Linked DNA regions of Homo sapiens: regions 1, 2, 3, 4, 5 and 6 are each linked to region 7. The links are contacts of gene promoters, found by promoter capture Hi-C in blood cells and fetal thymus (Javierre and others, 2016). All regions are on one chromosome and are shown on one strand. Each heading gives the region's core, a stretch centred on a gene start or on the middle of the fragment in contact. The rest is flanking DNA. Distances are from core to core; before and after follow the strand shown.

What was found. The method cuts DNA at HindIII sites, captures the fragments that hold promoters and counts their contacts. A CHiCAGO score of 5 or more calls a contact.
Region 1: a fragment that was not itself captured here is called in contact with the fragment with the promoter of BCL6B in region 7 in 1 of 17 cell types (neutrophils); the score reaches 9.3 in neutrophils.
Region 2: the fragment with the promoter of TMEM95 here is called in contact with the fragment with the promoter of BCL6B in region 7 in 1 of 17 cell types (monocytes); the score reaches 6.2 in monocytes.
Region 3: a contact is called between the fragment with the promoter of CHRNB1 here and the fragment with the promoter of BCL6B in region 7, in 2 of 17 cell types (monocytes and M1 macrophages). The highest score is 5.8, in monocytes.
Region 4: a fragment that was not itself captured here is called in contact with the fragment with the promoter of BCL6B in region 7 in 1 of 17 cell types (neutrophils); the score reaches 5.5 in neutrophils.
Region 5: the fragment with the promoter of ZBTB4 here is called in contact with the fragment with the promoter of BCL6B in region 7 in 8 of 17 cell types (naive B cells, M0 macrophages, monocytes and 5 more); the score reaches 9.3 in naive B cells.
Region 6: the fragment with the promoter of SLC2A4 here is called in contact with the fragment with the promoter of BCL6B in region 7 in 6 of 17 cell types (monocytes, M0 macrophages, naive B cells and 3 more); the score reaches 8.3 in monocytes.

What each region holds. Positions count from the first base shown.
Region 1 is chr17:6,600,735-6,603,918 of GRCh38, reverse strand. The region is part of intron 12 of KIAA0753; the gene reads left to right. It also overlaps the pseudogene RNA5SP435. Among named protein-coding and RNA genes, the nearest start is that of KIAA0753, 38 kb to the left of the region's middle. The HindIII fragment of the contact is 7,378 bases long and covers 1-3,184 here.
Region 2 is chr17:7,353,889-7,356,868 of GRCh38, reverse strand. TMEM95 (transmembrane protein 95) reads right to left here and starts at 1,713. Exons shown (of 7, transcript NM_001320436.2): 1 at 1,496-1,713; 2 at 1,227-1,283; 3 at 951-1,031; 4 at 820-840; 5 at 593-673; 6 at 390-477; 7 at 1-270. The coding sequence starts at 1,664. The coding sequence ends at 237. KCTD11 (potassium channel tetramerization domain containing 11) reads right to left here. Exons shown (of 1, transcript NM_001363642.1): 1 at 1,925-2,980. RefSeq lists enhancers at 1,119-1,645, 1,646-2,172. The HindIII fragment of the contact is 23,288 bases long and covers 1-2,980 here.
Region 3 is chr17:7,443,808-7,447,083 of GRCh38, reverse strand. It overlaps CHRNB1 (cholinergic receptor nicotinic beta 1 subunit), which reads right to left and starts at 2,023. Exons shown (of 11, transcript NM_000747.3): 1 at 1,899-2,023; 2 at 1,675-1,814; 3 at 971-1,015; 4 at 142-251; 5 at 1-41. The coding sequence starts at 1,956. FGF11 (fibroblast growth factor 11) reads right to left here. Exons shown (of 5, transcript NM_004112.4): 5 at 2,147-3,276. RefSeq lists a silencer at 1,902-1,951. The HindIII fragment of the contact is 9,289 bases long and covers 1-2,937 here.
Region 4 is chr17:6,631,542-6,634,793 of GRCh38, reverse strand. The region is part of intron 2 of KIAA0753; the gene reads left to right. Among named protein-coding and RNA genes, the nearest start is that of KIAA0753, 7.5 kb to the left of the region's middle. The HindIII fragment of the contact is 6,054 bases long and covers 1-3,252 here.
Region 5 is chr17:7,478,184-7,481,056 of GRCh38, reverse strand. ZBTB4 (zinc finger and BTB domain containing 4) reads left to right here and starts at 1,426. Exons shown (of 4, transcript NM_001128833.2): 1 at 1,426-1,601. RefSeq lists silencers at 1,070-1,329, 1,350-1,809, 2,070-2,119. The HindIII fragment of the contact is 9,560 bases long and covers 1-2,873 here.
Region 6 is chr17:7,280,468-7,283,703 of GRCh38, reverse strand. SLC2A4 (solute carrier family 2 member 4) reads right to left here and starts at 1,986. Exons shown (of 11, transcript NM_001042.3): 1 at 1,737-1,986; 2 at 343-459; 3 at 59-231. The coding sequence starts at 1,769. RefSeq lists an enhancer at 753-1,740 and a silencer at 1,873-2,022. The HindIII fragment of the contact is 20,977 bases long and covers 1-3,236 here.
Region 7 is chr17:7,021,774-7,024,987 of GRCh38, reverse strand. It overlaps BCL6B (BCL6B transcription repressor), which reads right to left and starts at 1,938. Exons shown (of 9, transcript NM_181844.4): 1 at 1,889-1,938; 2 at 1,138-1,328; 3 at 684-905; 4 at 225-587. The coding sequence starts at 1,316. RefSeq lists a silencer at 2,845-2,984. The HindIII fragment of the contact is 4,378 bases long and covers 1-3,214 here.

The DNA.
Region 1 (3,184 bases), core at 434-2,933, 420 kb after region 7:
CTTGTTTGCTCTCCACTCAGTCTTTGCTGGCATGTGGCCATGGGTTTTTCTGCAGTGTTTGGCTGCAGTAGAGCAATTATTTTCTAAGTTTTCCATCTTTCTCGGCTGCCCCTTTCTTGGTCCTTTTGATAGAGAGAGCAGACTTTATTTGCACTGAAGACTTATTTTTTGTCTGTGCCTATTGGTGTTTCTGGGTTGCCGGCTTCTCCAGTACCTACTCTGGGAAATATAAGGCAAAGAGAAATCCCAAAGAACTCACTGCTCTGTCATTCTTTTGGTCCCAGTGTCCCTAGGTGATGTGCCTTCTCTACTTCTCTCCGAGTCCTCTTATGTTTGCATATATTTAATGTCCAGGATTCTTAGTTGTAATTAACAGGAAGAAGAGTGGAAAGTACATTTTTCAGCCTCTTCAGAAGCAAAAATCTGAGCATTTCTGCTCATTGGCTTGTTTCCAATGAGAAATCAGAATTGCTTTTTATCCTTCTCTAGAGGCTCACAGACTCTGCTTTCTCCCCAGGGTATCTCAGATTCATAATGATAGGACTTATTGTGGGTGTGTTTTCATTCATCAGTAGACCTTTTAAGCCTGGCAATTTATTTCCTTTAATTCTGAGAAGTTTTCGTGCTTTATTTTGTACTTTTTTTTTCTTGTCTCTGTTTTCTCTATTCTCTGTTTCTGAAACTCCTGTTCTTTGATGTTGGACTTCCTTGATTGGTCCTCTGATTTTCTTATCTGTTTTTTCCTATTTTCTTTTTTCCCTCTTCTACCTCTACCCCTACCCTCCCCCAGTAGGAGATTTCCTCCAACTTTAACATTTAACCTATTGAGTTTGTCATTTCTGCCAGTGTTTAAATTTTAAAATTTAAAAATGTTGAGAGCTCTATTATATTCTCCAAATATCTCTTACTTAGTGGTCGCCTGTCCTTCTTTCATGGATTCAGTGCTGTTTTCTTTCTGAATATATTAACACATTTCCTCTGCCTTTTGACCTACATAATCTTTTTTTTCCTTCCTCAGATACCTAGTAATCTTGGCTATCTTCTCATGTTTAAACGTAGGGGGAGTGATTGCCGATCAAAAACTCAGAGTATGTGGGTTGGAATTAGTATTTTAGTTTTCTAAATAATTGTTTCTATCGTGGTATAATTTACATATAGTAAAATGCAAAGAACTTAAAGGTACAGTTCAATGAATTTTGACAAATGCATATCCCTGGGTAACCAAAACGCTAATCAAGATAGATAATTTGTCCTTCAACCTAGAAAGTACCCACATGTCTTTTTTGGTCGTTCTCTACTCCACACCCCCATCCCTCACGGAGGCAGTTGCTTTGATTTCTTTTACTGTAAGTAGCTTTGCCTGTTCAGACTTTATATGAATAGAATCATCAAGATCTACCCCATTGTGTCTGGCTTCTTTTGCTCAAGAAAATGTTTACGATTCATCCACATTGTGTGTGTATCAGCATAGTTCATCCATTTTAGTGCAGAGTAGTATTCCACTGTGGGAATATACCACATTCTGTTTGTTCATTCTCTTGTGAATTGACATTTGGGCTTTCCCATTTATAGTTAGTATGAATCAAGCTGTTACATACATTCTTGCACAAGGCTTTTTGTAGAAATATGCTTTCATTTCTCTTGGGTAAATGCCTAGGAGTATAATTTCTGGGTAATAGGATAGGCAGTTGTTTGATTTTATTAAATGAGCCATATGCATTATCCAGAGTAGTAGCTTTTTATACTCCCATCAGCAGTGCATGTGAGTTCGTTTCTATTGGTTTCACATCCTTGCTAACAATTGAGCTTGTCAGTCTTTTAGTGATTCTGGTGAGAATGTGGTGGTATCTCTTTGTGGTATTAATTTGTGTTTCCTTGAAGGCGAATGATGTTGGGCACCTTTTCTAGTGCTGATTATGAAGTGTGTGTTCAAGTCTTTTGCCTATTAGAATTTTTTTTAAGTGTTGATTTGAGTTCTTTGTATTTTCTGGATATGAGCCCCTTGCCAGATATGTGTGCAGCAGATATTTTCTCGCAATACTATGGCTCGCCCATAGATCTTTGTAATGGTGTCTTTTGATGACTAAAAGTGTTAAATTCTGATTAAGACCAGTTTATCAATTTTTCTTTTCTGGTTAGTCATTTTTGGTGAACTAGCTAAGAAATCATTGCCTATGTTAGTGTCTCAAGGATTTTCTCTTATGTTTTCCTTTAAGTATTTTATAGTTTTACCATTTATTCTTGTGTCTGTTATCCATTTAGAATTAATTTTTGTGTATGAGATGAAATACTGGTCGAAATTCATTTTCTTTAATGGATATCTGGCTATTCCAACACCATCTGATGAAAGTAACACCTGGACTGTTTGTTAAGGACACTTATGTTGGTCTTTAGGTCTTTCCTTTGGCCTGGGTCAGACTGCCCAGAGAAGTTTTCTGATCTTTGGCCCAGAGAGTAAGATCAGGATGTTGCTTCCTAGGAGCTGAGTTGGGGAAGAGGGCTGTGAGTCTAATAACATAGCATTTAGCCTGCATACGTGACCGCTGCCTCTTTTCAGTATGGTACCTACAGCCTCAACTGTGATTGGGTGCCCCTAGTCAAGAGACCCTCACACAGAGAATGAGCCATCAGACTTCTCCTAGAGTTGGAAAGAGGCGGCTGTATAGTTGTGTGAAGTAGGGAAAGGGATCTAGGAGTCTTAATTTCTCAAACATCATTTGGCTGTTGTCGTCAGTTTTTAAACCACCCCCTCCCAGCTTAGCCCAGGCCTAGATGTACCTGGTACTACCAGTCATGTGCCTAAGTCAGCAGTACAAATTGTGTGGGTTCTAGTTTTTCCCACTGCTGGCCCTAGAAGTCAACTTCCTGTCTACGGCCATACCACCCTGAATGTGCCCGATCTCGTCTGATCTCCGAAGCTAAGCAGGGTTGGGCCTGGTTAGTACTTGGATGGGAGAAGTCAGCTTTCTCAGATCAGCTAAGTTAGTTATCACTTTTGTCCTTTGTTTTCCAGCACCATTTTTTTCTTCCTTATCCTTGTGGGTGTAAAGCTAACTCTATGGTTGTTTTAGTGGGATTTGGAGAGGGAACAAAATTAGTTTCTTTTGTTTAGTTGATTACCCTCTTTAGCTGTTAATGACAACCGTTATTTTTTTTGAAGTGTACTCAGTGCGTTACACACTTC
Region 2 (2,980 bases), core at 464-2,963, 330 kb before region 7:
TGGGTGCCTGGGTTCCCGGGAGGCCATCTGACACTGGGATTGTGGGGGATCTGGGTTTTTGGGGATTTTCTTGTTTTTCATTATCTCACCAACCAGAAGCAGGGATGTCTGGGTTTTAGGGTCTGGAGACTGTCTTTGGAGCTGGGACTAAGGGGCTGACTGGTTCCCCTCCAAGGGATGTGGAAGTTGTGAGTGCATACCCCTTAGAGCTGGAGGCTGGGAGGTTTTCAGCGTCTTCACAAGCCACTTTTTGCTTGGAGGTGGTGGGACCTGAGGGAAGACGAGGGTGGGAAGCCTACGGGAGGGGCCTGGGAGGGACAGAGGGAGGGAGGATGGGTGGTGGAAGGCACTGGGCGGGGTAGGATTCCTGTCTTTATCCCAAAACTCACTCCACCAGGAGGCTCAGAACACCCAGAAGCAGGAAAGCTCCGAAGATGGAGAGGAGCAGAATCTTGGCTTCCCAAAGATCCTGACTTCCTGCAGGGAACCCAGGAGGCAGTGAATGATTCTGGGACCCACACGCACCGACTTGGGAGCCCAAGGGCTCAGGGATCTGGGCAAGGTGGGGCGGGGCCAAGATGGGCGTGAGGACCTGGGAAGCAGCGCTTTCGGGGCCAGCAGGACACCTCCGTCCCCTTGCAGGTGGAGCAGTTGTACAGCGTGGTGCTGCCCCCTGCAGGAGACAGCAGAGGCAACGCTGGGGAGGGGAGGCCGGGCCTCCACCCTGCCTGGTACCCAGCTTCCTCCTGCAGCTGCCAGGCCCTCCTCTGACACCCTGCAGGCCCCAGGTCCTTGCTACCCCTTTCCTTTCCTACTCACGGCAGGCGGGGGGACAGAGAGCTGAAATGAAAGACAAGGAAGGGGTGGGGGTGTGAATGGATGAGCTGCTCACCACACATTCCTTTGGTTAAGACCCTAGGCTCCCCTTGAGGCCCATCCCGCATCGGTACCTTCCCTGGTGTACTCAGGGAGCTTGGTCTTTCGAAGCCAACTCCAATATGAAGGGAGTGAGGAGACAGCCTCTTTGATTTCTGGGGAGGCAGACAGCAGCTCCGTTTCCCTGGGCCTCGACGGGGCCAGTTCCCCCTCTCTTCACGCAGCCCCTCCCTGATCAGCCCTCCTGTCTCTACCCCTCCACCCTTCCCTGCCCACCCCAACCCCTGTCACCCGTCCCTCTCCTTGGTATCCTCCCAAGCCCCTAGGTCACTCTTTCCCCTTGACCTCACCCATGACCCTCAGGACTCTGTGAGTCTTCTCTGTGACTTTGTTCATGGACACCTCATCTGTGGAGATGGGCAAGGACCAGCGATTCCCTCATCAGCCCAGGTTCTGGGGTCTCTCCTGACTTTCCCAGATATGGAGCTCTCTCAGAGGGAAAGGCCAGCATGTCCAGAAAGGGCCACAGATGGAGGGCACAGCTGGAAGGTCACATGCCACCCTCTGGGGGTAGGGGGGTGAGTGCTTGCTGGGCCCATCCCTGGATGTCTGGTCCTACCTAAGGCAAAGGCCGAGAAGTCTGGGGAGGCCCCACATTCCTTCTGCCTGGCCTCCATCTGGCTGCAGAGCCGAGCCAGGCGGCCTGACAAGTCGTGGGCTGGGAGGCGACAGAAGACACAAGCCTGGGCGGCTGCCAGGAAAACCCCGCCTAGTGCCAGCCTCCACATGAGGACCACTGGGGGATGGGGCGGCGCTGCCCCAGCTGAGCCGAGGAATGCTCTGCAGCCCTGGCTCCAGCCCTTGCCTGGAGGTTCTAGAATGTTCCAGAACAATGAACAATGGCACTGCCCATCCTCAGCTGGGGTAAAGCTGGGGCTCAAGGAACTGGGGTCCAGAAGGCATCTCCAGCAGGCGATGGGCAGAGAAAGCAGGGCTTCTGTTGTGAGGGGACAGCACCCCCAACCTGGCCCTCAACAGCCTTCACAAGTTTGTGGTTCCAAAAGCAGTTTTATTTTTCTTCTTGTAAATCATGACCAGTGAGAAATAATGTGTGCCCCACCCCCCACCAGTGAAGAAGCTGTGCGTGAGTATCCCACCCGCTCTGGGACCCAGAAATCCCATCCCTTCCCATCTCCTCCCCCACTGTCCCAAACTCTTCGTCTCCTCTCTCTGCCCTGGGCGGCCTTGGGCCTTCCCCAGCTATCTCCTAGCAACAGGTCCATGGTTGCCTCAGCAACCAAGAGTTCCATACAGGCCTCAGAGGCCCAGCTAAGCCCAGTGACTTCTCTTACCTCTCACCAGGAAGATCCCAGTGACTCAAACCCCAACAGGCCCCTCCTGGCTACGTGGTGATGCATATACATGCGTGCACATAAACACACACACACACACACACACACACACCCTGTGATTAAACTACTAATTGTCAACCACCTCACAGGTATACCACAGACACACCCTGTGCCAGAAGAGTCGCTAGGCAACCCCAAACAGGCCTGGACATGCGGACATCACAGACACTGTAGTCAGCAACACAGATATGAACCAGGATGCCAGGGACCTATACATCAGTCAGCCACACGGGCTGATATGCACGCACACATGAAGAAAGGCCAGGACCCACAGATACTACCCTCTTCCCCCTGGCCAGCCCTGCCATCAGTATGGGATTCTTCCAGATGAGGGATGCTCCAGCCCCATTGCCATGGGGACTGTCCTAGCTCCCATACATCAACCTAGGGTGGGTTGTGGCCTTTCTGCCTCCCTCAGTAGATGGCTTGGAACATAGCAAAGAACTCCTCTTCCGATGTTCCAGAGTGTTCTGGCCTCTCATTGGTCAGGCCAGGCCAGGCCACCCAGCTTCAGGAGTAGAAGCCATGGTCCAAGAGACCGCATTGGGAAAATGCAAAGTCCTCCCTTTTCCCCAGACCTCAATATCCTTCCAGGGTTTTGCTAGGTCTAGTCTGGGTAAAGAGATGTTCCCCCCTTTTCCAAGCCCTTAAACACTGAGCTCCAAATCAAGGAGAGACTGGAGGTGCTCAGC
Region 3 (3,276 bases), core at 774-3,273, 420 kb before region 7:
CGACGCTAATGTCCAGAGCCACGTCAAAATTCCCATCATTGCTGCAGAGAAGGGATCTCATCAGGGATCAGGCCCCGCGCCCGGAGGCCCCCCGCCCCCCGAGGCCCCGCGCCACCTCCCGGGCTTTGGAAGTTCTCCTACTTGTTCAGTAGCACCACGTCAGGGAGCCACACGGATTCCGCCGTGATGCGGAGCGAATCGATGCCGTCGTGCTCCGCAGGGTCCCAGCTCAGCCTGTAGTCAGTCCACTCCTAGTGAAGCAGAGGCTGAGGGGCTGCCCCGGGTTGGAGGCCGGGAGGGACTTGGGATTTCCAAAGGAAGCCCAGGAAGGGAGTGCAAGGAAGGGGAGCAGGACAGGCATAAACTGTGGGTCAAGGGGCCGTGGTTCTGGCTCTGGCTCCGCCTTCACTCGCTGGGATCCACATCAGCTAATTTCCCTCCCCCGCACCGGGTTTCAATATTTTACTCTGTAAAAATGAGGAGGCTGCAGTAGCTAGCCTCTAAAACGGTTTTCAAACTGCAGTTCGCAATCCTTTAGTGGATGGGGAATGAAATTAGCGGCCCCAAACCAGTGTTTCAAAAATTAGAATGGGCCAGGTGCAGTGGCTCACGGCTGTAATCTCAGCACTTGTGGAGGTTCCCCCCGAGGCTGGTGGATGGCTCGAGCCCCCGCATTCAAGAACAGCCTGTGCAACATAGTGAGACCGCATCACACACACACACACACACACACACACACACACACACACACACACAGACACACACACACACACACACACAAAATTGGAATTAAAAATGCATGGGGTGTAACTCCTGTAGTAAAGTTAAGTGTTGTTTCTTCGAGCTTTTGCTTCAGTTATAAACGTGTTATCTAAAGTCATGATGTAAAAAATATTCTTACTGGGCTGGATATTCAAGGAAATTGTCAAGGCAGAGGGAAGCCCTTTCCCACCCCGTGGGGTCTCCATACCAGGTCTAAGTACACCTTTGTGCTCATCTCTTCATCCTTCTCGTTCTAGAAGGGAAAAATTTAAGGCGTAAAGGTGAAGTAGGGTGGAGAGAAATGAGGGGGCTCGGGGGGCCAACCTCTCTCCTGGGAACGCCGCCCCCTTTTTCTGAGCCCCATCCTCTCGGGTCCAAGTCCACCTCCCAGAAGCGGCGTTAGTTTAAGACCTGCCTCTATCTCAGAAACACCTCTTCCTGCCGTCTACACTCCCAGCCTATCAACCTACCAGACCCGCCCCTGCCTAGCCCTCCGCCTAGCTCTGTCCCCGGCCCTGCCTTCAGCTCATAATCCACCCAGCCCCGAACCTCCACCCGCTGCCATTTATTGACCCCTGAGCACCAAGCTCCGCCCCACCCTGGGCACTCAGGACTCATGTGGCCCTACGTCGAGGTCCGTCCCCCAGCCCCTGCCTCGTCCCCAGCCCCACTTTAAGGTCCGATCACAGGTCCGTCCTTCACCCTACCCAGTTCTACTCCAGGCCCGTCCACCACCCACGGCCAGAGCTTGTCCATTGGTCTGATTTCGATCCAATCTTCACCAAAGGCTGGTCCATCTCAGCCTGGTCTCGTCCCAGGCCCCGCCCCCAGCCTGTCCCTGGTCCGGCCTTGCCTAAAGCCACGCCCCCGGCCGGTCGGCTGGCCTGACCTCCACCCCCCGCGCGCCCTCACCAGGCTGATGAGTTGCGCCAGGATGAGACCAACGCTGACCCTGACACGGTCTCCCACCTCCCGCGCTGGCCGCACGGAGCTATCATAGCCAGAGAAAAGTTTCTCCCGGAGTCGACCCTCCGCCTCCGAGCCGCGGACGCCTGGGGGAGGAGAGAATAAGTGCAGCCCTGGTGCCTGGCCACGACCGCTGGCCCCGTCACTGCCCCTTCGGGGCCTACACTTACCTGGGGCGAGCGGCGCCCCCAGCGCCCCCAGCAGCATCAGCAGAGCCCCTGGGGTCATAGCCTGGCGGCTCGCTCAGTGACTTCGCTCAGAGAGCCGCTGGGACCGCCAGCACAGGGGAAGTGACGAGGAGCCCGGGAATGTGCACCTGTTGCTGGAGGACAGCCGCCAGCCCACCCGCCCCGCCCCCGGGACTTGATCCTGCCTCGAGCAACTGCCAAGCCCGCCACCGACAGATGACAGACAGCACTTCAGTTGTATAAATCGTCTTTAATTGAGAAAGCTGGAGTGGAGACCCGATCCCCTGGGAGCAGTGCCAGGAGTTGGGTGGAGACTGAGTGGGGTTTGTGTGGGTGAGGGGGCATCTACTCCTCTTGCAACAAGCCAGAAGTAGAACAGCCTAAGGAAAAGTGACCTGCCTTGGAGCCTTAGTCCCTCCCTTAGGGCCCCCTCAGCCTACCCTATCCAAGTCTGAGGCTATGGAAGTCTCCCTCCTAGTTCACTAGCAGGTTCCCCATCTTTTCCAGGCTGCCCCTAGCACTCCACGTTTTTCTGAAAAAATCTAGACAGGCCCTTTTTGGGTACCTAAAACCCAGCTGAGGTTGTGAGCTGTAAGGTAAAGCAAGTTCTATCCAATTAGAAGCTGTTGGGGCGTATGAGGTCTGGAGTGCAAGAGGCCTTCACCCTTCTTGGCCTGACCTGTAGGGGAGAAGGGTGAGACTTATTGCTGAATTGGGGTCTCCTCACTGGGAGGGTCAAGGCTGTATCCATTTGTCCTTTTTATTAAGGACATATTACTCTAAGGACCTCAGCTTTAAAGGGGACCTGGAAGGAATTCCTGCTGAGGTAGCTAAGTATTCATGTCCACCCAACACAGATGCAGGTTCAGTCATGCCATAATTTTGACCCCTCCCCCATCCCAGCTTCCCTACTATGAGCCAGGGATCCTTCCAAAATTCCTCTGCCCTTCTCCAGACTCTGTCTCCCTGGCACGACCTCAGCTGGGTTGAAGGAGCTAGAAACTGCATGTAAAAATAAGCTTAGCATTCTATATGGAAGAATCATATTTTTAGAGAATTATCTAGGAAAAACAAGAAATGGTTCTTGATTCATCCAGAAGTGTTTTTATGAATCATAGCTGGGTCTTTTCCAGAACTCATCCGTAATAGGTATCACTCAAGAAGGCGGGAGGGTGGGGCTAGAACTTACTTAGAACAATAATATGGCTATACAGGCCCCAGCTCCATCCTGGGTAAAAGGGCTGAGAGTCATGATCTATGTCCTAGAGCTAGGATTCAGGGGGAAGTACGGCTCCATAAAGCTCTAGAATTGGGTGTCTCTGGGATAAGAAGGTTAAACCCGTGGTCATCTGAGACTGGT
Region 4 (3,252 bases), core at 426-2,925, 390 kb after region 7:
ATACTTCTCCTAAAAATGAACTCTCCTACTTAATCATGATACTATTCTTATACCATTTCTTATAAGAAATGGACCCAAAAAATTCCCTGTTATCCAATAACCAGTCTTTATTCAGCTTTACTCAGTTGTCTCAAAAATGTCTTTTCCCCTAGCATTATATTATGAAAATCTTTAAAAATACAGCAAAGTTGAATTTTACAATGAACACCTCACCTAGATTCCATTATATTTCACTTACTTGTTTCGTTGCATGTCTGTCACTCAGTCATCCCTCTAGAGATCCATCCATCAATCCATCTTATTTTTTGACACATTTCAAAGTCAATTGCAGGCATGAGTATCCAAACTACTTCCATATGCATGTTGTACATTAGAATTCACTCTGTTTAGGGCCAGATGCGGTGGCTCACGCCTGTAATCCCAGCACTTTGGGAGGTCCAGGCGGGCGGATCACCAGAGGTCAGGAGTTCGAGACCAGCCTGACTAACATAGTGAAACCCCCATCTCTACTAAAAATACAAAAATTAGCTGGGCGTGGTGGTGCACACCTATAATCCCAGCTACTTCGGAGGCTGGGGCAGGAGAATCGCTTGAACCTGGGAGGCAGAGGTTGCAGTGAGCAGAGATTGTGCCACTGCACTCCACCCTGGGTGACAGAGCGAGACTCCATCTCAAAAAAGAAAAAAAAAAAAAAAAAAGAATTCACCCTGTTTACTGATTTTTTTCTTTCAATATACATTTTACGTCAGAAATGGTGAAAGATGTACACATTGCAATGTGTACATCTTTTCACATTTGCTGAGTTTTGACAAATGCATACATATGTGTAACCCATACCTCTATCAAGATACAGATCATTTCTGTTATCCTAGAAAGTTCTCTTGATGCCCCTTGCTAGATAACCCCCACTCCTCCCCTCCAGAGGCAGCCACTATTCTTATTTTTTCCACCACAGATTAGTTTTCCCTGATCTAGAACCTTATATAAATGGGATTTTATATTTTTTTGGTGTTAAGACATTTCACTAGCTGTAAAGTTTTTGAGATCCATCCTTGTCATTGCATGTATCAGTAGTTTATTCCTTTTTAATCCTTTTTTCTCATTCCATACTATGAGTATACCACAGTTTGTTTATCCGTTCTCCAATTAATGGACACCTGGGCTGCTTCCAATTTGGGATTATTATAAATAAAGCTGCTATGAACATTCTTATACAGATCTTTTTATGAACATGTTTTCATTTCTTTTGGGTAAATATCCAACAGTGAAATTGCTGAGTCATGGGGTAGGTGTATATTTAGTTTTATAACAAACCATTGGACCTTTTTACATAGTGGTGGTACCGTTTTACATTCCTGCTGACAATGTATGAGAGCTCCAGTTGCTCCACATCTTTGCCAACACTTGTTGTTGTCTCTTTAGCCATTCTGGTGGGTGTTTAATAATATCTTATCGTGGTGTACAAAGAAATTTAAAAAAATTTTTTGACATAATTTCAGACTGACAGAAAAGTTGCAAGAATAGTCCACAGAATTCCTGGATACTCTTCTCCCAGATTCCTCAAATGCTAACATTTTGCTACGTATTCCCTCCTTCTCTCTCTCACTATCTCTATACACACACAAATTATTTTCTAAACCATTTAAGAGTAAATTGCAGACACAGTGCCCTTTTACCTCTAAGTATTTTTTTCCTGAAAATAAAGAATTCTATTATATAACCATAGTACAATGATCAGAATCAGAAATTAACATTAAATCGATACCATCATGTAATCTGCAGACCTTACTGAGATTTTGTTAGTTGTCCCAATAGTGTCCTTTATAGCAAAAGAAAATCCAAGATCATAAGGTGCATTACATTGTCATGCCTCTGTAGTCTCCTTTAATCTGATTTCTGAGTCTGTTTTTAGGTTTTGTGACATTGATTTTTTTTAAGAATATAGGCCAGTTATTTGTGGATTTTCTCTCAATTTAGATTTGCCTGATGTCTTCTCACAGTTACATTCAGGTAATGCACTTTTGGCAGGAGAACCACTGAATGATACTGAGTGCTTCTCAGGACACCCTATCAGCAAGTACATGCTGCCAATTTAGTCCCAGCACTAGCAGTGTTGACTTTCACCATTTGATTAAGGTGGTATCTGCCTGGTTTTTTCATTGTAAAGTTACTCCTTTGCTTTTTGTAATTATTTGTCTTGGAGACTATGTTAATGTCTTTTTAACACCTCAAACTTTCACCAACTACTTTTAGCATTTTTGCCTGAATCAGTTTTTTATTATGGTGGTTGGCAAATGGGGATTTCTAATTTTACCCTTCCTTCTACATTTACTTGTTGCCTTACTCCTTGCAATCTGGCTCTTTCCCACTGCTCCAGGAAACCCCTTCTTTTCCTAGTACTTACTTATTTATTTCAGCACAGACTCATTATTATTTTTATTCTCATTATTTATTTTGATGTGCAGATATTTATTTTGATGTTCAAATGGTCTTTGATTTAGCCAGTGAGAGCCACTTCTAGTTGGCCCCAGTGTCTCTTTGACATGATCTCATCAGTCTTTGACCACTTTATGGTGTAAAAAGACACTCCAAGGCTGGGCGTTGTGGCTCATGCCTGTAATCCCAGCACTTTGGGAGGCCAAGGCAGGAGGATCACTTGAGGTCAGGAGTTCAAGACCAGCCTGGCCAACATGGTGAAACCCCATGTTGCTAAAACCCCATCTCTGCTAAAAAATACAAAAAAATTAGCTGAGCATGATGGTGCACACCTATAATCTCAGCTACTTGGGAGGCCGAGGCAGTAGAATCACTTGAACCCAGGAGGCGGAGGTTGCAGTGAGCCAAGATTGTGCCACTGCACTCCAGCCTGGGTGACTCCGTCTCATAAATAAATAAATAAATAAATAAAAGATACTCCAGGCTCAACTTGTCTTTTCTTTGTCCTGGCCCTGGAATTAACCATTTATCCAAGGAGACTTTGATTCTTCAGTGGAGAATGAAATTTAAAAAATCACTATCTGGGGCTGGATGTGCTCCTTGATACTATCATGTCATTGTTTTAGGCCCTCTCAGAGGACAGAACTAGGAAATAGATGTATACTTGTGTGCATATACATACATGTACACACATTCATAAATGCACACCCGTACTCACATGTCTGTAGCTACACTTTCTCATCTCCTTCCTGTTTCTTTCTTTCTCTTCCCTTCCTCCTTCTCTTGCTGTCTATGTATCTTTCTGTGTCTGTCTGC
Region 5 (2,873 bases), core at 177-2,676, 460 kb before region 7:
CTCCCAAGTACCTGGGATTACAGGCATGTGCCACCACACCCCGCTAATTTTTTATTTTTCGTAGAGATGGGGTTTCTCCATGTTGGCCATGCTGGTCTTGAACTCCTTACCTCAAGTGATCCACCCCACCACCCCCCGCCTCCCAAAGTGGTGGAATTACAGGCATGAGCCACCGTGCCCAGCCCAACTCTGCTTCTTTTCTATTTATGTCTCCATGACTCCAAAGTTTGTCTGATTCTTTTATTCTTTTTATGGCTAGCTCTGTGGCTTTACATTAATTTGTTTATTTATATCTTGCATGGTTTCAGAGAGGTTTTTTTGTTGTTGTTTTTTTTTTGAGACGGAGTCTGTCTCTGTCGCCCAGGCTGGAGTGCAGTGGCGAGATCTCGGCTCACTGCAAGCTCCGCCTCCCAGGTTCACGCCATTCTCCTGCCTCAGCCTCCCGAGTAGCTGGGACCACAGGCGCCCGCCACCACGCCCGGCTAATTTTTTTGTATTTTTAGTAGAGACAGGGTTTCACCGTGTTAGCCAGGATGGTCTCGATCTCCTGACCTCGTGATCCGCCCACCTCGGCCTCCCAAAGTGCTGGGATTACAGGCGTGAGCCACCGCGCCCAGCCTCAGAGAGGTTTTAAGGCAAGGAGCTGTGAACCCTGGCTCCTCCATCTCCTTAGTTTTTAATTTTCCAGCACCAGGGAGGAGTTCTTGGGATTGTCCCTGTGGAGTTTCAGGAATGTGTTTTTTCTGTGTGTGCTTCCACCTGGTGTTTTGTTGATGCTGTCCCCAGAGGCCGACACCAAGGCCTCTGCATTTATGTTCAAGTATACAGATGTGGATCTATCTGCTGGTGGGGACAAAGTACCCAGCCAGCTTCATGTGTTCATTTGCGCTGGTGGTCGTTCGTGTGTGCCCCGTATGCAGGGCCAGGGCCTTCTTTTTCCGCGGCCTGCTGAGCTTTCCTGCGCATTCCTGGAGAGGGTGTGTGTGTGTGTCCAGGGCTGGCCCTCTTTGAGTGTGCCGACCCTGGGTCTGTGAGTCCCACCGGGCCTGATTATGAGTCTGCCATGTCATGTCTGCACCCTGAGAGCCTGTGTGTTATGCTTTCAGGCAGTGTGCACCGCTGAGTGAAGGGCGTGCAGGAGGAAGGGCGGAGGGAGCCCTTTCCCTGGGGGTCGGTGGTCTTGCGCCCCTGCCGGGATGCTGCAGCCCGGCCCGCGCCCCGCTCGGTGTCCACCCGCCCGGTGGCCCAGCGCGGCGCAGTGTCATGCCGCGGGGGTCAGTCCTGGGGAAGGCCGTCGGGCGCTCGGAGCTTTGTGTCGGTGTCGGCTGCGCTGCGCCGGCCTCCTCTCGGCGGCGGCGGCGGCGGCGCTGGGGGGGGACTGTTTCCGGGGGTGGGGGTGGGGGTAGGACCGGGGCGGGGGGAGCCGATGATGTCAGCGGCGGCGGCGGCGGCGGCAGCGGGGCCGGGCCGGGGCCAGGCGCTGGGGGGGCCAGGGCCGGAGCTGGAGCCGGAGCCGGAGCTGGAGGCGGGCAAAACCGGAGCGGCCGGGGGCGGCCACGGTGATGAGCCGGGCCTGGCGGACGCGGCGCCATCGCAGTCAGGTGGGCCCTGGGGCGAACTGGGCAGGGCCAGGGCGGACCGGAGCCAACTGCCAGGCCCCCTCTCCGCTGCCCGGCGCTGCGGGAGCCCCGACCGCGCCCCGCGCCCAGACCGCTCTCCTTTGGGGTTGACCTGGGGGCGCAGGGGTCGGGGGCTGAGCCTGGCCCCGCCCCCGGGCGCGCACGACGCTGGGGGGCGACTAAGGGGGCCCTGGTATGGCGTCCGAGCGAGGGGCGGCCGTGGGACGCGATCGCCTGGGGCCGTGGAAGGGGAGGTGCTCACTCCCTCTTTGAAGGGTTAATTCTGCAGCCTAATGGCCCCCTCCCCCCGTGGGGCAGATTGGGGGTGGGGTGGGGCGGGTGTGAGCCCGGGCAAGCGCTGCAAGCTGCTGGGAGGGTGATGGCGTAGGAGCCAGGCAGAGAGGGGGAGGGGTGGGCCGCCGAGCGCCCCAGAGTTGGGGTGTGCGGGGTGCGCAGGGCGAGCTGGGGCCCCGGAACCGCCGCGCCGTCGGGGCAGGGTTGTGGCTGTGAGTCTTGGAGATCGTGTGTCTTGTGCTGTGTGGTGGGGCAAGGTAAACCTCTCCTGGGCACCACCGTTTGCTGGCAGCCAGGGGTCTGGGTAGGGCCCTCCCTGGGCCATGGAGATAGAAAGCCAGGAAGGGTGTCCAGTGTTGTGGGGCAGAGTTACAAGACGAGCCCTGTGGCTTTGGGTGACAGATGGGTATTCTGAGCAGGGCACAGCATGCTGGGTGCAGAGTTTGTTCGATGTGGGGCTGTATGTTTTCTACAGCATGTGTTTTCTCGCATGTGTGTCTTGTGCTGCACCTATGACCTGTTTATGAACTGTTTTCTGCAGAGCTGGCATGCTGTATGTGTTGCGGAGGGTGCCAGGATGCAGTGTATGTGCCCTTTTGGAGGGGGCGGTTGTGGGCCTTTGAGTCAGAAGGCGTCACGTCTGGGTCCCATTTCTGTGGCCCTGCTGAGGTGTGGTCCAGTGGTGAAGAGGGCGATGGATGGGTTTGCGTGTCTGTGATGAGCGCGTTGCATGGGGGCTGCGCGTCTAGAACTCAGATCCCAAAGATCATGAGAGGAGCGAGGAACCCCGGGGTATGTCTCAGGGGCCTGTGGGTCAGTTGGCACTGGTGTGAGGGGCTCGAGGTGGAATGCGCCAGTTGTGTTTATGGGATCATGGGCAGCCAAGCGAGGGGAAGGTTGTGTGTTTGCAACATTCTCCACAGGATTCTTTTGTGACGTTGTTTGTAGGAGCCTGTCTGG
Region 6 (3,236 bases), core at 737-3,236, 260 kb before region 7:
GGGCACCCAGCAGTGGCTCCCTTCCTGTTTCCCCCACCCCTGCCCTCCAGCTGCGAACCTTCCAAGCCACTGAGAGATGATACCAATGAGGAAGGAGGAAATCATGCCGCCCACGGAAAAGATGGCCACGGAGAGGGCCCAGAGGGTGGTGAGGGTGCCTGGAGGGATGGAGCTGGGTCCCTCAGGCCCCTGCCTCCCCAGCCACGTCTCATTGTAGCTCTGTTCAATCACCTGGGGGACAGCAGAGGACAGATTTCCTGCAGACCGTCCCCTTTCCACCACCCCCGAGACACCTGTCCTCCTCGTTTGGGTACCCCCACCCTGCCAGCTGCAGGCCCTCACCTTCTGAGGGGCATTGATGACCCCAATGTTGTACCCAAACTGCAGGGAGCCAAGCACCGCAGAGAACACAGCAAGGACCAGGGTCCCAGTCACTCGCTGCTGAGGGGGTTCCCCATCCTGAACAGGCAGACACAAAGACACAGCATGTCACATGGAACCATGATTTTTTTCCTTCCGCTAGGGGCCCGGGCCCAGCTGGAGCCTGAAGATACTGGGCTCCACCCAACATGTTGGGTGAGGGAAACTGGGCCATATTAGGAATTGCACAAAGATCTCAATGTAAACAGGAGCTGAACTGCAACCTGGGCATAAAGGAGAAACTGGATGTTTGGGTCCATAAGGCAGAGAAATGTTTGAGAACTTGTCTCAAAATTCTTCTGTGACCTTGAGACAGGCTTGGCCTTAAGAGCTCAGATTTGTGTGACCTTGGCCAAGTCACTTCCCTGCCCCGAACCTGAGTGTCCTCTGTGAGATGGGGGTGATGTTGCCTGCCTTGCCTACCTATCTGTGAGAGTGTTGTGAAAATCAACATCACATGTTAACAATATCCTTGACAGTGCTGGTTTCATAAATTAACACGTGCATTATTATCATCAGCCACTGTCCTCTTCCCTCCCCTCTGGGGGTTCTGTCAGCCAGCTCCAGGAGGCCCCCAACAGGACCAAGAAGTGCTGTTCCAGAAAGGACATCCCGGTCATCTAGGGGTGGCCTTCTCTATCTACGTCGTGGCCTGCCCTCCCCCTCTAACCTCCGTGCAGGGAGGGCCGTCCAGGGGTTCTGCCTGGGAGAGCCATGCCCAGGGGAGGAGGGCAGGAAGGTAGTGTGAGGGGCGGTGGCAGTGGTGGCCGCTCGCTGGCGGCACAGACTGTCTCCAAGCGGAAACCTGAGCTGGAGGAGGGGGGGCTGACAGTCCCCTCTGCCCCTCCACCAACCATGGGGCCAAGGGAAAGTTCAGCGTCCTGGAGGGCGGCCAGGAGTGGGGGTGGGGGCCCACGGAGAGCCTCCGGTCCTCGAAACACTGCCCGTGAGCGAAGACGGACGGACAGCTCCCGGAGGGCAAGACCCGCCTGGATCTGCTTTCCCGAGTCGGATCGAGGGCAGGGTGTCCCCGATTCCGGAGCGCCGCGCCGCCTACTAGGCAAGGGGGTGAACCCTGGCTCGCAGAATCCACTTGCTGCCTGTGCCCCGAAAGGCCCTCCAGACCCACTCTGCCTTTTGGTAGGATTGGAATCTCACAGTCACGGGTTGTCCAGGCCGGGTATAAATAGCCAGCCCCCTACCTTCACCCCCTGCGCCTGCGCAGGAACCACCCCCAGCTGACCCCAACCGCGACCCCAGCCCAAGAAAAGCGGGACCCGTGCCCCCCCGCCCCGCCCCCTCATGATGAATCCTACTTCGGAGCCTATCTGTTGGAAGCCCGACGGCATCTCGTCTTAGAAGAGCTGGACGCGCAGGGGCGGCGAAGATGAAAGAACCGATCCTGGAGTCTCTGACTCCGGCCTGGAGCGCAGAACCTGCGGAGGCCGCGGGGGTCCCGGAGTGACGTGCGAGGGCGGGCCCGATGGGACCCACAGCCACAAGCCAAGGACCCGGAGAGCAGTGGGGCTCCCGCGGATCTGGTGGAGCGGGGCTGGGGGAAAAGACGCGAGAAGCCCCCGCCACCTCGCTCCTGCCCCCGCGGGCCACGCCCTTCACAGCACCCATTGGCCAGGAGCCCGCACACCCCAGAAGGCCACGCCCCCTCCGCCTGGGGTTTAGAGTTTGGCTGGAGTTGGTGGGGCGGGCCAATGAGGCCACGCCCCTCCGCGTGGCTGGCGAGACACGCCTCTCGGGTTCCCGCCAGCCTCCGACTGGGAAGTTTTGAGAAAAGAGTCCCTGGAACAAAAGGCCCCGCCCACCCACGTGTTAGGACTCCGCCCACCAGCTAGGATCCCGGGCTGCAGAAGCATCTTAAACTCTGCGGGTCTGGACAGTGGGGTCTGAGAGGAGAGGACGGGCCAGGTGTACTTGCCCCGGGGAAACTCCAGCGGCCTGAGACGGCTCGCGAGCCGGCGCGCGGGTTGGGAGAGGAGCAATGCCCCAAAGTAACCCGGGGCTGCTATTTTTAGCTCCCACGTTGGGAGCCTCCAAATGTCAGGTCCCGGGCGTCCCGGCCTGTCCCAGGCGGGGGCGGAGAGACAGGGAGATGACGCCTTAAAGAGTCCGCGACATGCTTCCCACGCGAGTGTGGCCCTGGGGGCCAGGAAATTCCGTTCCCACAACGGGTCTGGTGGCCGGGCTGCTTGGTCCTGTCTTTCAGCGCCTCCCTGCTCCGGGCACTGTCTATCCCGCCCTTCCCCTACACACATTCCCCAGGTTGGTTCCTGGAGCCGGTCCGAGGGACAAGTGGTCACAACCGACCACACCACCAGCCCTGAGGTCTCTGAGCCTCTGAGGTCTCTGAGCATATGCTGGCCGCGTGAACGACACGCTCTCTGGAGGCTGCTCCGGGTTTGGATCCTCGGCCAAATTCTGCCAGGCAGAAAGTGCGCGACCTAGGGTCGGCGTGTGGGGAGAGAGAAGCCGAAATACCCAGAGCGTGGAGAGTGTCTGGCTCAGAAAACGGGCTTCGGAAGCGCAGGGTTGTGCTGCCACCTGGAGGGCGAGCGAGGAGCCGCAGTGGATTGCACTTGGAATCTCAACCCACTATTTCTCGCCTTTCCGCCACCATAGGGCTTCAGTGACATCTGACCCAGGCCCTTCTCTGGAGCTGCAGATCCAGGTGTTCGTTACCGCCCGGATGTGGCAGCTCTAGTGATCAGCATGTCCAAACCTGCTCCTCCTCCTAACTTCCTTATTTCAATGAATTACCCGCCCAGTCACCCCTATGGTAGAAGTCAGGCTCGATTCCTCCT
Region 7 (3,214 bases), core at 689-3,188:
CCCTCTCAGGGTGAGCCAATATTGTTGACCAATGAGCCACATCCATTGTACTGCCCAAGTGCCACCCTGCTGAATAAACCTGGTCTCTGGCCAGCTCCTTAAGGTGAGCTAGTGTCTCTGAAACCCACCACCTATCTCCCTTCCTCCTGACCATCAAGGCCCAATGACTCTGTCTTCTAGCTGAGGCCAGCTCTGACAAATTCTTGAGGTTCTAGACTCTGTACCTGCTCTGGGGACCAGGAATGGGTCCTTCTTCACTGCTGCTGCTGCTGCTGCTGCTGCTGCTGGAGGCCTCGTCTCCACTGGGGAGCCTGGCTTGGGGGCAAGGTTGACCAGAACTTCTCTCCCCGACCAGGCTCCCTGCTTGGGAGGCCTGAGAGTTTAGCACGATGTACTTGTACTTTTTCCAGTTGCAGGCCTTGGGGTCAGGGCTGGCTGGACTGGGGGGGCCTTGACTGCAGCTTCGAGATTCAGTAGGTGGGTCTGGGTGTCCTTCGGAGCGCCTGGGACTACCTGGTGGAGGGGCCGTTGGGGGTGTTGGGGGTTCTGCTTCCAGGGGGCGCAGGGAGATGCCCAGAGGTTCATAGCTGGGGAAAGTGTGATGAACGTTAGTGCCATTTCCTAAACTCTGCCTTTGCCCTTAACACCTCACCCACAGAGAACGCCGAGCCAGGGTCCCTCACCTGGCCTGGATGAAGCGGTGGCATGCCTGGACCACGTGCTCCATCTGCAAATAGGTGGCGGCCGCTAGGACTGCTGGTGCAGTGGCTGGAGAGAGGCGCAGGCGCGAAGTGTACATGAAGTCCAATAGAGGGGCGAAGCCTCTCGCTTCGGGACCCCCGGGCAGAGAGAGCACGTCCACCCCGACTCCCGCACGGCCCCGGAAAATTGAATAGAAGAAGCCACTAGAGAGAGAGCAGATAAGTCCTTTGGGGGCTGGGGAACCAAGGGAGACATGCGCAGCTTCAGGAAGCCCCGCCCCCTGAAAAAGTCCCGCCTCCTCACTATCACCCCGCCCCCAATTCTGGGACGCTCCGCCTCCTGCTTCTGAAAGACTTGGCTTCGGATTCCCTCTCAACGGCCCTGTGGTCCCACCCCTTTCCCATTTGGCCCCGCCCCAGGCCCCACCCCTCGAACCTGCAGGCGATGAGAACTGCCTTGTGTGCTCTGAGGGGTTGCCCGCCAACCAGCAGCGTGACGTCAGTGAGGATCCCGCGCAGGCGCAGCTCGTTGAGGTTGCCCAGCACGTCGGAGGAGTGGCGAGTGAACTCGCGGACGTAGCCCAGCGCTCCCTCCGGGGCGGCGGGGGAACCCATAGCGACACAGGCCTGTAGAGGCCGTGGAAAGTGCTCTGGATCCAGGCAGTCCTAAGACGCCTTCCCTCCTCTGTTTGCCTTTTCCTTCCGAGGTGCAACTAGAGCCAGGACTTCCAGCCCCTAGCCCCGGCACACGCAGCCTCCCTCCTAATTCTTCTTGTTCATTCTGCCCTCTACGACACCCTCGCTCCCTTGCCTCTTCCAGATCCCACAGCGCTTGGAGCCAGTTGAAGGTTCCACACCGCGGCGTCGTTGGCGAGCGTGGGGAATCCCGCGCCCATCGCCCTGGGTTCGACCCCCAGTGCCCCTCCAGCACCGCCACTCCCCTCTGCGCGCCTGTGTCTCAGGTGTCCAACCCTGCCTCGAGATCTCACGGCCTGCCGTCCACACACCTCCAAATCCCAGCCGAGGCTCCCTTCCCCGAACTACGGAATTCTGCGACTCCTATCTAGTCCCCAATCCCTAGTTTAGCCCAATTTCTGGGACTCAGGCTCGCTGATGGCAAGCTCCACACAAGCTCCTACCCTCTTGGGGGACCCAGGAGTCTGGCTCCCTCAGTCTCTTGTTCTTACCCCCGTCCTGCAGGGGCCGCGGCTTCTCTTCTTAAGGGGGGCGGGGTCTCTCTCCCCTCTTGGCCTCGGCTCCTTTATCTGGCCGGGATGTCGGGGGCGGGGGTGGAGGTGGGGTGAACGCCTGGGTCTGTATCCTTCCTTCCTCCCTCGCTCTCCAGATGGCGAGTCCAGGGCGGGGTCTCCGTCTCGAGGGCGGGACCTCAGAAACAAGGGGTGGTCGTAACGTAGGGGGTCTTGGGTCACTGCAAGTGGACACGAGGACGGGGATATTGGAATTGGGGAGGAGGTTAGGGATATCGAGGTTGGCAATACGGGAGTCTGAGTCGTCGGAAGGCCTGGGCCAGTGAAAATTGGTGTGTTGGCTTTTGGGAGGGTTTGCCAGGAGCCAACCTTTGCTGCAGGACAAAGTGCATACGGCAACCCCCTCTCCCTCTCTTGTACTGTGTTAAGGGAGAAAAGGGGGAGCCCAACGAGACAGCAGGTTTGGGCAGACGACAGTGGGCTCCCGTAGGGTCTCAGACGGGGAGGGTGTGGTGTGAATGACAGGCTACTCTACCCGGGCCTACAAAAAGGGGGGCTCTGGCCGGGCGGGGTACGGAGAGGGCGGATATGATTTCTAGTTGGTTTCCTTCCATTGTCCTGCGACCGGACGGCTCCGCCAGCTGCTTCCCCTCGAGGAGGTGGGGAAAGCCCCGAGGTGGGGGTGGAGGGGCGAGAGACGCTCGGGAGACCTAGGCGTCCGGCCTCTCTCGCTCCCGACTCTCTTCTGGGTCCTTGTAGGGATCCAGAGAGATGGACTCCCGCCCAAAGCCCGCTTGCTTTCCCCCAATCCCAGCTCACGAGGGCCTCGGGCACCCGCCCGTCGGCTACGCTTGGAGGCTGGCGGGACGCCGGGGTCCAGCGCGGCAAGTAGGCAAGGCTCGGCAATGTGCGGCTCCTTCCACGAGGGGGCGGCCGAGCACTGGCCTCGCCTCGCCCCTCGTCTCCACCCGGCCTGGGGTGCGCTCAGACCCGGGCGCAGGATCCATTTGGTCTGGGCGGCTGAAACCTTTAGCCTCCTCCCCTTTGCGCGGGTTTATTTTGCACCTCTGTCTCCTAGGAGGGGACTAGGGCTGGGCGGAGGGAGCTAGAGTTAGGAGACCGAGGGGACTTTCCCCTCAGGCTGGGGTTCCTACCCGAGGTGAGAAATCGCGGGCTTTAGGAGCCAGGGGAATGGGTGGGACAAGAAGCGGGACCTGAGCCTGGGAACTCCGGGTTTTCTTTTCGAATTAAGCTAGACACTGCTACCCAGATGTCTTTGGAGGTGACTTTTAATTGAACATTAAA